2 separate regions of the Homo sapiens genome follow, and region 1 is linked to region 2. The links are contacts of gene promoters, found by promoter capture Hi-C in blood cells and fetal thymus (Javierre and others, 2016). All regions are on one chromosome and are shown on one strand. The core of a region is centred on a gene start or on the middle of the fragment in contact, and the rest is flanking DNA. Distances in the headings are between cores, read along the strand shown.

What was found. Contacts are between HindIII fragments. The CHiCAGO score rates a contact against its expected background, and 5 or more counts as called.
Region 1: a fragment that was not itself captured here is called in contact with the fragment with the promoter of WDR38 in region 2 in 1 of 17 cell types (neutrophils); the score reaches 8.4 in neutrophils.

Annotation. Positions count from the first base shown.
Region 1 is chr9:124,415,696-124,422,694 of GRCh38, reverse strand. No RefSeq gene overlaps it. Among named protein-coding and RNA genes, the nearest start is that of PSMB7, 3.8 kb to the right of the region's middle. The HindIII fragment of the contact is 2,918 bases long and covers 1,987-4,904 here.
Region 2 is chr9:124,848,416-124,855,187 of GRCh38, reverse strand. WDR38 (WD repeat domain 38) reads right to left here and starts at 1,728. Exons shown (of 9, transcript NM_001045476.3): 1 at 1,588-1,728; 2 at 863-983. The coding sequence starts at 1,656. RefSeq lists a silencer at 1,627-1,676. The HindIII fragment of the contact is 17,878 bases long and covers 1-2,461 here.

The DNA of each region.
Region 1 (6,999 bases), core at 2,196-4,695, 430 kb after region 2:
GTTTTGAGACAGTGTCACTCGGTCGCCCAGACTGGAGTGCAGTGGTGAAATCTTGGCTCACTGCAACCTCCACTTCCTGGGTTCAAGTGATTCTCATGCCTGAGCCTCCCAAGTAGCTGAGATTACAGATGTGCACCACCAAGCCCGGCTAATTTTTTTGGTATTTTTCGTAGAGACAGGGTTTCACCATGTTAGCCAGGCTGGTCTTGAACTCCTGACCTCAGGTGATCTGCCCGCCTCAGCTTCCCAAAGTGCTGGGATTACAGGCATGAGCCACCACGCCTGGCCTCTACAAGGCCCTTCTTAACTGGGGCCTGGCCAGCTGGCCACATTGCCCCTGGCCCATAACCGGACTGATCTGCCTGCTATCCTGCCAGCCGGATGGCGCTACCACACCTCCGAGCCTTTATCTCTCTGTCTTGAATGCTTTTTTCTTGAATGCTTTATCTGCTCTCTCTGTCTTGAATGCTTTTTTCTTGAATGCTTTATCTGCTCTCTCTGTCTCGAATGCTTTTTTCCTTCTCTCCACTGCCATTCTCCAAGACTCTGTTACAGCTTCACTTCCTCCAAGAAGTCTGCCCAGGCCCTCCAGGCAATTGTGTCTCCCCGAATCTTCCCCTCTTTAGGGAAAGTAATTCCACTCTCTGCAGCCTGCCTTCCACAGACCCAAGTCTCAGCCTTGACTGTCCTCCCTGTGAAGCTGTGGGTCGGGCCCTGGTCCTTCTGAGTCTCAGCTCCTTTTTCTGTTCCTTCCCCCTTAAAGGATCCCACCTGCTGTTCCCTCCCTCGGAAATTATTAAGAGAATCAGGTATGCTAAAAGGAGAGGCTGGGATTAAGAACATGAGCTTTAACCAGGACAGGCTTGGGTTCAAATTCCAGTTCTCTTGCTGACCAACTGCGTGACCTTGTGTTACAACTCCTGTCTCCAAGTGGAGAGTCCCCTACCTGTAAGCTGGAAACCTCAGATGGTGTTTTGATGAATGAATTGGGTTGTGGCATGGAAGGTGATTACCGTAGCACCTGGCATAGAGAAAGGATTCAGTAAATAGATGTTAAACATGATGATTAAACCAGGTGGGGAGAGTGTTTGGTTGTTGGAACCCACTGAGGAAGTGCGGAGTATTCTCATGATTTCACTGTGACTTGAACAGCCCCTGGATACGAAGAAGGGAGGGATGCCCCCTCCTGCTCTCCAGCAGCTGGAGTTGGCAAACTCAGGGCCCAGCCGTCCCAGGCCTTGCTCACAGTGGTGGGGATTCTGGAGGTCTCAGGTGGGCCCCAAAATCTGCTCAGCACCCCAATAGAGTCTGGATGGGTGGTAGGAATCCACACTTTGAGATGCTGCCCTGTGCCGTGCTGCGCCCCTCCCATGGGAGCTGTGTTTCTGTGGCCCATGCAGCGAGGCTTGGCACCTGGGTGCTGTGCCAGGGGCCCTGGAGCCTGGAGCAGCTGCTGTAATTTATGCAAAGGAAGGCGCCCAGGTCTGCCCTGTCTATTTATAGCTTATTTATGAAGAAGGAAAAACAAGGGCCCAGTTGCCATAGCAACCAGGAGCATCATGGGCTGCTTTCCCTGCAAGAGGAAGATGGCCAAGTCTCCTTGAAGGGTGCACCCTCAGATGTGTTTACCGTGACAGAGGATGCAGGTGGGCCTTTGAGGGCCTGTCCCATGCTGGGTTCCTGGGCAGCCTGCAGGGTGGGTGGGGTGGGGGGTGCTGCTTATTGGGCTCTTGGAAAATCCAGGGTGATGCCAGGGCCACGCACAGCTGAGCTCTCGGCAGCATGAGATGCACCCTCGTCCCCTGGTCTTGATGCTAACTCTTGTCCTCTGGGTGCCCACCTGCAGCCTCAGGCAGACTTGGAAGCTCTTTCCCTGGCTGTGCTCTGGCTCGTGTCCTTTAGGGCACTTAGCACAGTGAACTGGAGGCCTAGACGCCAGACCAATGCCCCCAAGGCTGTCATCTAGCACAGGGTTGGCACCAAGCTTGGCACCAAGGAAGGGTTTAATAAATAATGAATACATGAAGTGTTGTATAGTTTACGATGCGTGTTCTTATTCGATGCGTGTGGGGCAGGATAAGCACTGCAACAGTCTGTCATTTTACAGATGAGGAAACTGAACTTCGGAGAGGTCAAGACACCAGCCTAAGGTCCTGCAGCTGGCAAGTAGCTGAGCTGGCCTGAGTCCTGGAGGAGGAAACCCCACCTGTGTGCTGGCAGAATACGAGGGAACTTGGGTTCCGGTTGGAACTCGGGTTCCAGTTGGGCCCTTATTGTCAGGGGTGGGGGAAGTGGTGCTGTGTGTGGTCTGTGGCTGGGAGGGGTGTGGTTTGACTCTCAAGTCATATCAGCGGTATGACCTTGAGCTAGTGACTTCACCTCTCCGGGCCTTGGTTGCCTCATCTATAAAGTGGGGCCATGATGCCTGGTCCCTGGGGACTGCCAGCTCCCTGAGGACAGGCTCTGTGTCTGTCTCTTGATTGTGCTTTCCTACTGCCTGGCACATTCTAGGTGTCCAGGGTGATCATGAGATCCTGCACACAGAATGGCTGGGTCCAAGCCCAGGATGTTGAGTGCTCTCAGGGACTGTTGGTTGTTACTGTGTTATTTGGGAACTGAGGCACAGAGAGCCTGATGGCTCTCCTGAGGTCACCCAGCCAAATCCACAGCAGAAGTGGTGGCTTCACTGGTGAGTTGGGGTTGGTAGCACTGCCAGGGATGAAGTGGGACTGTGTCCAGGCCCAGGGGAGGGCCAGCTGGGCTGGGCTGCAGTCCCAGGGGGCAGCAGCCATGCTGGGCAGGGAGGCCGAGTGGGGATCTCTGAGTGCTAGGGATCTAGGGTTGCCCTCCACATGCCTGGAGGTGCAGAGGCTGCCCCCATCCCTGCCCGGCTGCCCCCATCCCCGCCCGGCTGACTCCCTTGCTTTATGTCCAGGCCGCCTGGAGGCTCTTGGTCGCCCTCTGCTGGGCTCTGAGTGCCTCTGCGGGGCCACCTCCAGAGGCTGTAAGAGGAAACAATGTCCCCTCCTCAGCCCAGTCTGGGTGTGAAAAATCAAAGATACCAAAGAAACCCAGGTAGGAAGAGAAAGTTCCCTCAAGCAAATCGAGGTCACAGATCATTTCTACAACGGCTTTCCTAGCTCTCTGTGCTGTGCCCGGGGCCCTGGCTTCTCTTTTTTTTTTTTTTTGAAACAGACTCTGGCTTTGTTGCCCAGGCTGGAGTGCAGTGGTGTGATCTCAGCTCACTGCAACCTCCGCCTCCCAGGTTCAAGCAATCCTCCCACCTCAGCCTCCCAAGTAGCTGAGATTACAAGCGGGCGCCACCACACCCAGCTAACTTTTGTATTTTTAGTAGAGACGGGGTTTCACCATGCTGGCCACGCTAGTCTTGAACACCTGACCTCGAGTGATCTGCCTGCCTGGGCCTCCCAAAGTGCTGGGATTACAGGCATGAGCCACCACGCCTGGCTGGGCCCTGGCTTCCTAGCTCCCACTGAGACCCTACGGCGGGACTCAGGCACCCACCACCACCCCCCGGAGGCTGCAGGTACCACTGCAGAAGCCTCACGACTGTTTCCTAAAAACCATGTCCAGGGTTTTCGGTTTGGTTTTGTTTTTGGCACATCTCAAGCCTTCGCCCACGTGCCTGACCCTCTTGCCTTGTCGTCCCGATGGGCTCCACACCGTCTGAGCCTCTAGGCTTCCCTAGAGTGTGTGCCCCCCACTCGCATTCCCATGCTTCCCCCGCCTGGCAGTTGGCACACAGCGCTGGGAGTCTTTCTTTTCTGAGACTTCCTCTCCTCCCCTGGACTGTGAGCTCAGGAGGTGTCTGAGTTTCCTAGCTCTGTTATAACAAAGTACCACAATCTGGGTGGCTGAAACACCAGAAATTTATTGTCTCACCATTCTGGAGGGTGCAAGTCCAAAGCAAGGTGTCTGCAAAGTTGCTTCTTCTGAGAGCCGTGAGGCAGACTGTTCCAGACCTGGCGCCTAGCTTCTGGTGGTTTGATGGCAACTTTTGGCATTCCTTGGCCCATAGGATCATCACTCCAGTGTCTACCTTCATCTTCATATGGGGTTCTCCCTGTGTGCATGTCTGTCTCCAAATTGCCAATTTTTTTTTTTTTTTTTAGACAGAGTCTTTCTCTGTTGCCCAGGTTGGAGTGCAGTGGCATGATTTTGGCTCACTGCAACCTCCTCCTCCCAGGTTCGAGTGATTCCCCTGCCTCAGCCTCTTGAGTAGCTGGGATTACAGGCGCCCACCACAATGCCCAGCTAATTTTTGTATTTTTAGTAGAGACGTGGTTTCACCATGTTGGCTAGGCTGGTCTTGAACGCCTGATCTCAAGTGATCCACCTGCCTTGGCCTCCCAAAGTGTTGGGATTACAGGTGTGAGACACCATGCCCGACCCAAATTTCCAATTTTTATAAGGACGCCAGTCCTGTTGGATTAGGGCCTAGTGACCTCATTTTTAACTTGATTACCTCTGTAATATCAAATCAAATTCAATTCATTTGGAATACTTCCAAGTAAGGTCAGCTACTGAGTTACTAGGGGCTAGAACTGCAGAATATGAATTTATTTCCCTAATTTCAACGGAAAACTCAGAGGTAACGAAAGGGAATTCAACCTTTGACAAATGTTTATTAAACACACAGTTGTGATAGACACTGGTTCTAGGTGCTTCATTCATTCATTTGCACCTAGAACCATGTCTGACGCATAATGGGAGCTCAATAAATATTTGTTGAGTGAATAAATTAATTCATTCCACAGTCATTCAGGCTGTAAAAGGAGCCTTCAATTCCCTCAGTAAAATGAGTTGAATTACATAATTATCTCTTAGGTTTGTTGACAGGATGAAATGAATGTATTATTAATAATAACTATTTATAAGAAGCTTCTACATGCTAAGATAGATGGTCTTCATGTACAATGTTTAATACTCACAATAGCCTTATTAAAATGAAATTCACTGGCAAGGCATTGTGGCTCATGCCTGTAATCCCAGCACTTTGGGAGGCTGAGGTGGGCAGATCACTTGAGGTCTGGAGTTCGAGACCAGCCTGGCCAACATGGTGAAACCCTGTCTCTACTAAAAATACAAAAATTAGTCAGGCGTGGTGGCATATGCCTGTAATCCCAGCTACTTGGGAGGCTGAGGCATGAGAATCACTTGAACCCAGGAGGTGGAGGTTGCAGTGAGCTGAGATCATGCCACTGCACTCCAGCCTGGGTGATAGAGGGAGACCGAGTCTCAAAAAAATAAATAAATAAATAAAATAAAATAAAATAAAATAAAATTCACCTAACGTAGAAGTCACCATTTTAACCATTTTAAAGTGTGCAACTCAGTGGTTTTTAGTGTATTCATAATATCGTGCAACCAATACCACTATGTAATTCCAGAATATTTTCATCATTTTCCAAAAACTCTGCGCCCACTAAACAGTCCTATCCATTCTCTCCTCCTCCCCTAACCCTTAGCAACCAAACATCTACTTTCTGTCTGTGGATTTGCCTATTAAGAACACTTCACATACATGGAATGATACACTATGTGGCCTTTTGTGCCTGGCTTCTTTCCCTCAGTATATTTTTAAGGTCCATCCCTGTTGTAACATGTATCTGTGCTTCAGACTTCTTTATGGTCTAATAATATTCCATTAAATGAATTTACCATATTTTGTTTATCCATTCATCAGTGGATGGACATTTGTTTCCATTATTTGGCTATTGTGAATAATGAGACCCCCCCCTCGCTTTTTTTTTTGAGACGGAGTCTCTGCTCTGTTGCCCAGGCTGGAGTGCAGTGGCGTGATCTCAGCTCACTGCAACTTCTGCCTCCCTGGTTCGAGCTATTCTCCTGCCTCGGCCTCCTGACTAGCTGGGACTACAGGTGCCCACCACCACGTCTGGCTAAGTTTTTGTATTTTTAGTAAAGACGGAGTTTCACCGTGTTAGCCAGGATGGTCTCAATCTCCTGACCTCATGATCCGCCCACCTCGGCCTCCCAAAGTGCTGGGATTACAGGCGTGAGACACCGCGCCCAGCCAATGAGACCCCTTTTGACGCAGGGCAGGTAAGCCCCAAAGTGCGGCTGAGCCCACAAGGGTTCTTGGCTTTGCCCAAGAAAGAATTCAAGGGCAAGTTAGAGGCAGAAGAAAACGGCTTTATTGAAGTGGCGGCGTTACAGCTCCATGACTGCTCCTGCAGAGCAGGGTTACCCTCTTAGGCAGAGTGTCAGGGCAGTTTTGCTGTCATATTTATACACACTTTTAATTACATGCAGATTAAGGGGTGGTTTATGCAGGCATTTCTAGGGAAGGGGTAGTAACTTTTGGTTTATGGTGCCACTGCCATGGAAAGGGGCGGTAACTCACGAGTGTTGCCATGGCAACGGTAAACTGACTTGGCTGGCTGGTGAGCGAGTCTTAGGGAAGACAGCTTCCGTCCAGGCCCTGTTTTAGCTAGTCCTCAATTTGGTCAGGTATCTCAGCCCCATCTCTGAATGGAGGCCTGCCTTCTACCTCACCTTTGTAGAAGTTTTTGTGAATACATGTCTTCAACCCTCTCGGGTGCGTATCTAAGAGGATAATACTTTTTGGGGAACTGCCAAATTGTTTTCCGGAGCAGCCGCACCGTTTTGCATTCTCACCAGCCGTGTATTCGGGTTCCAATTTCTCCACACTCTCGCAACCCTTGCGCTTTTCTGTCTTTTTGTTTATGGCCATCCTAGCGGGTGCGAAGTGGGATCTCACTGTGGTCGTGCTTTGCATTCACCCTATGACTAATCATGTTGAGCCTCTTTTCACAGACTTAATGGCCATTCTACAGCAGCCTTTTGAGCTAGGTTGTAATCTCCATCTGATAGCGGAGGAAACAGATTCAGAGAGTTGAAGAGACTTGCTTAACGCAAGGGGGTGGTGGGGCTGTGCCTGGGACTTGGGTCTGTCTGTCTCTGAAGCACCGCAGAACCAAATTAACGGTAGAAACA
Region 2 (6,772 bases), core at 479-2,978:
GGTGACAGGACTTGACCAAGATCACAGTCAAAACAGTGGTAAGCACGACATGGCTGAACCTTAAGTACATCATGCTAAGTGAAATAAGCCAGTCACAAAAAGACAAATACTGTGTGACTCCACTTAGAGGCACCCAGAGAGGTCAGATTCATCGAGACAAAAAGAAAAACAGTGGTTGTCAGGGGCTGGGAGGAGGGAGATTGGGGACTTGTTTAGTGGGGACAGAGGTTCAGTTCTGCAAGAGGAAGAGCTCTGGAGATTGGTGTCACGACAATGTGAAGGTACTGGATTCTCTGAACTGTACACTTAAAAATGGACACAACAAAGCCGGTGCAGTGGCTCACGCCTTTAATCCCAGCACTTTGGGAGGCCGAGGTGGGTGGATCACGAGGTCAGGAGTTCAAGACCAGCCTGGCCAAGATGGTGAAACCCCGTCTCTACTAAAGATACAAAAAAATTAGCTGGGTGTGGTAGCAGGTGTCTATAATTCCAGCTACTCGAGAGGCTGAGGCAGAGAATTGCTTGAACCCAGGAGGCGGGGGTTGCAGTGAGCCGAGGTTGTCCAGCCTGGGTGACAGAGAGCGACTCTGTCACACACAAAAAAGGATGCAACAGTAAGTATTACTGTGTTACATTACAGTTGTTTTTGTATGTATGTGTGTGTGTGTGTGTGTTTTTAAAGAAGGCTGAGTCCAGGCCTGTTAGAGTCTAAGCCCCAGCACCCAGATATCTCGTCCCATCTCCCAACCTGCCCAGCCCTGCCTTGCACCCGTGCCCAGCTCATCGGAGGTCACTGCAGTCAGCTCTGCAGCATGCCAGACCCTTGTGCCTCGGTCTTCCCGGCCAGGTGTGGGAGCCCCACCTGTGTGGCCACCCAGCCTCCACAGCAGCTGCCCACTCCGGGTCTCCCAGCCATACACGCAGCCATCTTCTGAGCCTGTGAGCAGCATCTGGCCATCAGGGGAGAAGGCAGAAGAGTTGACCTAGAAACAGCACAAAAGCGGTCCCATTCTGGGGAAGAAACCCCTGTCCGCTCATCTCTGACCCCTAAACACTGCCCCCCAAGAGCCTGGGGTTGGAGCTTGACTTCAAGCCTCACTCCACCACCAGAGCCCAGAACCCGGGACCCACTGGGCCCTCTCTCGAGTCCCGTAAAGCCAGAGCCTGCAGTTGGAGGCAAGAGCCTTCTCTGGAACCAGAGCCTGGAACCCCAGAGCTAAGAGCCCATTCCAGAGCCGCAGCTGACAACGGAGAGTCCAGAATCTACTCTAAGTTCTGAGTTCACTTTAGAGCCAGGGCCCCAGAAAACACCAGAGTCAGCAGGGAGCTTTGTGCCCCTCTCGAGGCAGAGCCCAGAGCCCGGGGCTCTTTTTACAGGCAGAGCTTAGAACCTAGAGCTGCTCTGGAGCTGGGGCCCGGCACTGGAGCTGAGAACCTACTTCGATCCTTCTTGGGTTAGCAAAGTCTACTCTGGACTCAATGTCCTGAGCCACTGCCCAGAGAACATTCTGGAACCCCCACTACACAGAACCAGGAACCACTCTGCATCCAAAGCCGGGAGTCTGGGCAGAGCCCGCTGGACCTCACCTCCCCGCCGTGCTGGCCGAAGAATTTCACTCTCCGCACGGCCAGCGTGGCCGGGACCCCGCTGTTCATGGGCACCCGGCCCCGCCCCGCCCCGGCGGGCTCCCTCCTAGGCGGCCGCGGGACCCCAGGACTGGGCAGAGGAAAGAGGAAACTGTGTACAGGCGGTCTCCATGGTAATCGGGGCGGGGCGTGCGGCCATGGTGGGGTCCCTGCGAAGCCACGAGGACTGACAGGCAGGCCAGACCGCTTGCAGTTCGGCGGAGGTGGAGCCGCAGCAGGCGGGACCGCGGCGGGCTGGGAGAAGGGACTTCCCGCGCCAGCGGCTGCGCGTCCACTCTAGGGCAGCTCTCGCGCGGGGCAACACGGCAGGCAGAGCGGCCACTAGAGGGCGCGCCAGCCACACGCACCGCGCGGCCCAGAGCCCGGCCCCGCGCCCTGCGGACTGCGAACTGCAAGGGGTCCCTGCACCTCTTTGATACAGGGGAGCAACGAGCCTGTCTCCCCATCTGCACAACCGGGAGCATCAGCCCTGCCCCACAGGACTCCAGGGGTGAGCCAAGCACAGGGCCTGGCACACGGTAGATGCCCAAGAGGGCCCCCTCAGGAGCCAATACCCCTTCCGTCCAGGAGTGGCCAGTACTGAGGTTAAGGATGTCCCAGGAGAGCGCTGGGGACAGTAGCCAGCTCTGTCCTCCAGGGCGTGGAAGCCAGAGGTAGTGTGTGTAAAGTACATGGCATTAAAAGTGGGGTCACGTTGCTGTTAACATTCCTGGCAGCACAAAATGTGCCATCTGAGGATGGGGTGGAGGCTGGGGCTGGGGGGCAGTTGCCCAGGAGCTGCCAGGATCCTTACCGGATAGCGCAATCTGAAGCTTGGAACGAGCAGGACTTGGTTTCATTGTTAATTTACAGGTGAAGAAACTCACCCGGAGAGCTGGGAGGACTTGCTCAGAGCCACTCAGCCAGTAGGAGTGGAACTGGGATTTCAGCCCATGGCTGTCTGACTCTGGGTGTCTGTACTGGGACCACCTGCCATGAACTCCAGGGACCTCTCAGCAGATGTTGAGGTCCGCAACTCCTGGTACATCTGGGAAACTGAGGTCCGAAGGGGGCAGGACTTGGCCCAGCCATCTAGCCGGTGCTTCCATGGCAGAGCTGGGGCAGGACCCAGTCTCCCCACTCCCACAGCAGGACAGGGAGGGAACAGAGGACCCCCCACCTGCCCCGCCCATGGATTCTAGGCTCCCTGGGGGCAGGGGTGGAGCAGCTGGGCTTTGGGAGCTTCAAACTCAAGAGTTCCCAGCGGCGACTCACACCCTCCCCCCCTAAACCTCTTTGCCAGAAACTTCTCAGGAGATCCGCTGTGCTCCTGCTATTTTAAGTCCCAGACAGTCAGGCGGGTGAGGGAGCGACAATGACAGCTTTGAGGCAGTCCCACTCCATCCCAGATCCCAGAGGGCCTAGGTCACTGTGGGACCCTTCTGAGCTGGGCCTATAAAGCTGTCCCCCCACACCCAGATGTGGCTCCCAGACACAGCTCCCCAGAGCTACTATTCCCTGGCCCTCTGGCTCTCCTGCTCAGGCACCCCCCCAACCCATGCCCCGGCCCTGGGCACATTGTCTAGCCACTTGGTTGCTCCTGCTCTATCCAGAGGGCCCAGAGCCACCTTCCCCAGCCCAGCCCTTCACTCCCAGAACCCTCAGGGTAGACCTTGTCCACCAGGCCCAGTGACTGCTTGGCCGAAGGGGTGGAGCTGGGGTCGAAACCCGTGGGCTTGGCTCAGGCATCTGTAGGTGGAACCACCAACGTGAATGCCAGGGTCCGGAGGATCATCTCCGCGGATGAAGTGGTGGAGAAGTTTCTGCCAGTTTTCCACCACTGACTATCTCTTCCTTCTCCTCAGGGAGCCTGCCGCCTTCTCTCCTGTATTTGGCCAGGCTGTCCAGGGAGAGGGCTCTACCAAGATGTCCAGGATGGATGCCGCGCTGGCTTTTCTCACTGTCACTCCATTCCCTGAAGGGGACTGGAGGTCCTGGACCAGCCTTGCCTCTCCTCAGCTACGCATGTCAACCTTAAAACACCCCACAGGGCCAGGCATGGTGTTTCATGCCAGCAATCCTAGCTCTTTGGGAGACCAAAGCAGGCAGATCATTTGAGGCCAGGAGTTCAAGACCAGCTTGGGCAAGATGGTGAAACCCCATCTCTACTAAAAACAAAACAACAACGACAACAAACCTCACAAACATCTGTTCAGCAAAAAAAAAGAAAGAAAGAAAGAAAACAATCAAGGCAGGCAAAAAAGAACCCTCTATTTATTTGGATAAGAAAAGCAAGCAAAACCCCCAAATCTCCAGAGTGGTCAACTCTCAGGAGAGGAAGGGAGGGACTAGAAAAGGCAGGACCCTTGGGGTTTTGAGGAGCCACATTCCAGCTCTAAGCTGGGCAGGGGCCCCAGGTATCTGTTGAATTGTTCTTAAAGAATCGGCCCCGCCTGTCTGGCCCCTGCCTGCCTGTCCTTACTCTTCCTGGCTTCCTTGCCCTGCCCCATTTCTTATACCCTACCTGCAGTCCTACCCCAAGTCTGGAACAGTTTAGTGGGGAGCCAGCATTTCCTGACCGGTGCCCCAAGAAGCAGAGAATGTTGTTTTGTGGCAAGAGAGGAAGTAGGAGAGGGAGTTGGAGAGCCTAATTGCCCTGGTTTCTTCGAGGTTCCAGCTCCCAGCTCCAATACCTGAGCTGCTCCTCCTGCCCTCTAGGTTTTTTTTTTTTCTAAGATGGAGTCTCTGTCTCCCGGGCTGGCTGGAGTGCAGTGGCGCGATCTGGGCTCACTGCAACCTCTGCTTCCTGGGTTTAGGCAATTCTCCTGCCTCAGCCTCCCGAGTAGCTGGGATTACAGGCACCTGCCACCATGCCCAGCTAATTTTTGTATTTTTAGTAGAGATGGGGTTTCACCATGTTGGCCAGGCTGGTCTCAAACTCCTGACCTCGTGATCCACCCACCTCGGCCTCCCAAAGTGCTGGGATTATAGGCATGAGCCACCGCGCCGTGCCTGCCCTCCAGGTTTTAAAACATACCTGTTCCCAGCCAGATGCAGTGGCTCACCCCTGTAATCCCAGCACTTTGGGAGGCCGAGGCAGGCAGATCACGAGGTCAGGAGTTCGAGACCAGCCTGGCCAACATGGTGAAACCCTGTCTACTAAAAATACAAAATTTAGCCGGACACGTGATCCGCCTGCCTTGGCCTCCCAAAGTGCTGGGATTACAGGCGTGAGCCACCGCACCTGGCCTGTCATTATCCCTCTTAAAAAGTGTGTGGACCAGAACTAGAACCATGCTCACTGTTTGGACTGACAACCACCAAGCTGAAAGGTACTGTCATCTCCAGTTTCCTAGACACTCCATCTCTAGTAATGCAGTCTGCATTACTAGAGGCATTTATGTTTCCAAGAGCTATGTTATTCACTGCAAATGCACGAGAGCTTTTTCCCATGAACTGCTGTCCAGCCAGCCCTCCCTCCCCTGTCTGGTACTCACACAATGAGTTCTTCGGAAACGCACGCAAGACCTTACATTATGCTGGTTAAAGGTCATCTTCTTGGCCCCCATCCAGCCGTCTAGTCTTGAAAGCATTTTAAAAGTCCCACTTCTATTGCACAAAGCATTAATTCTGCTGCTGTGGCAGCTGCAAATTTTATGAGCGGGCCTGTGTTCTGGTCCAGATTGGGGAAATGATCAACATGACAGGGGTAAGAACAGAGCCACGGCCGAGCGTGGTGGCTCACGCCTGTAATCCCAGAACTTTGGGAGGCCGAGGCGGGTACATCACCTGAGGTCAGGAGTTCGAGACCAGCCTGGCCAACATGGTGAAACCCTGTCTGTACTAAAAATACAAAACTTAGCCGGGCATGGTGGCATGTGCCTGTCATCCCAGCTACTCGGGAGGCTGAGGCAGGAGAATTGCTTGAACCTGGGAGGCAGAGGTTGCAGTGAGCTGAGATGGCGCCACTGCACTCCAGCCTGGATGATGAGAGCGAAATTCCATCTCAAAAGCAAACAAACAAACAAAAAACAGAGCCCTTTGGTCTATCACTAGAGACCTCCAGTGATTATCTTTTTTGCCTCCATCCATCAGAGTCATGGGCTAACCATGGGGTCAGGGAGGGTACAGTCCCTTAGGAAAGGTCCGGGTGGGGAGGAAAGTAATTTAGATTCTTTTTTTTTTTTTTTTTTGAGACAGAGTTTTGCTCTTGTTGCCCAAGTTGGAGTGCAATGGTGCAATCTCGGCTCACTGCAACCTCCGCCCCCTGGGTTCAAGAGATTCTCCTGCCTCAGCCTCCCAAGTAGCTGGGATTACAGGCACCCACCACCACACCTGGCTAATTTTTGTACTTTTAGTAGAGATGGGGTTTCACCATGTTGGCCAGGCTGGTCTCAAACTCCAGACATCAGGTGATCCACCCACCTCAGCCTCCCAAAGTGCTGGGATTACAGGCGTGAGCCACCGCACCCTGGTGGTAATGTAGATTCTACCTCAAGCAGGGTTCTCTGGTTGCAAACAACAGAAACCATGGATGGCCAAAAGGGACCAAGAAGCTCTGGGATGACGGATTGGAAAGACAGCAACACTGTCACACCAGGGAAGGGCAGGAAGCAGTGCTACTCACTCATCCCGGGAGCAGCCCAGCAAATCAGGATCCTCAGAGAGCTCGTGATTGACCCAGCTGGGGTCAGGTACCCACTTCTCGGTGAGGGGAGGGCTGTCCAGATTAAGACCTGGGATTCTTCCCCCACCTCCACCCTGGTCTGTGAATCAATCAGGAAGCTCTAGTTCAGCTTAAAACCAGCTGTCACCTGTGTAGCCTCAGAAGCCAGGCAGCTGCACCCTGATCTGACTCCGTCACCTACCACCTGTGACCTCGGGCCAGTTACTTAATGCTTCCGTGCCTCCTTTTCCTCACCTCTAAAATCAGGATAATAATTAGTACCTGCTGCATGAGGTTGGCTTTGAGGATTAATGTATGTAAAGTGCTTGGAACGGCACCTGTGCATGGTTAGCTGGGCTATCATGAAAGCGTTATCATCTCATGAGTCCACCATTTTTTACTGTAGCCCCAAAGATACCAAGAAAGGCTCCCTGGCCAGGCACGGTGGCTCACAGCTGTAATCCCAGCACTTTGGGAGGC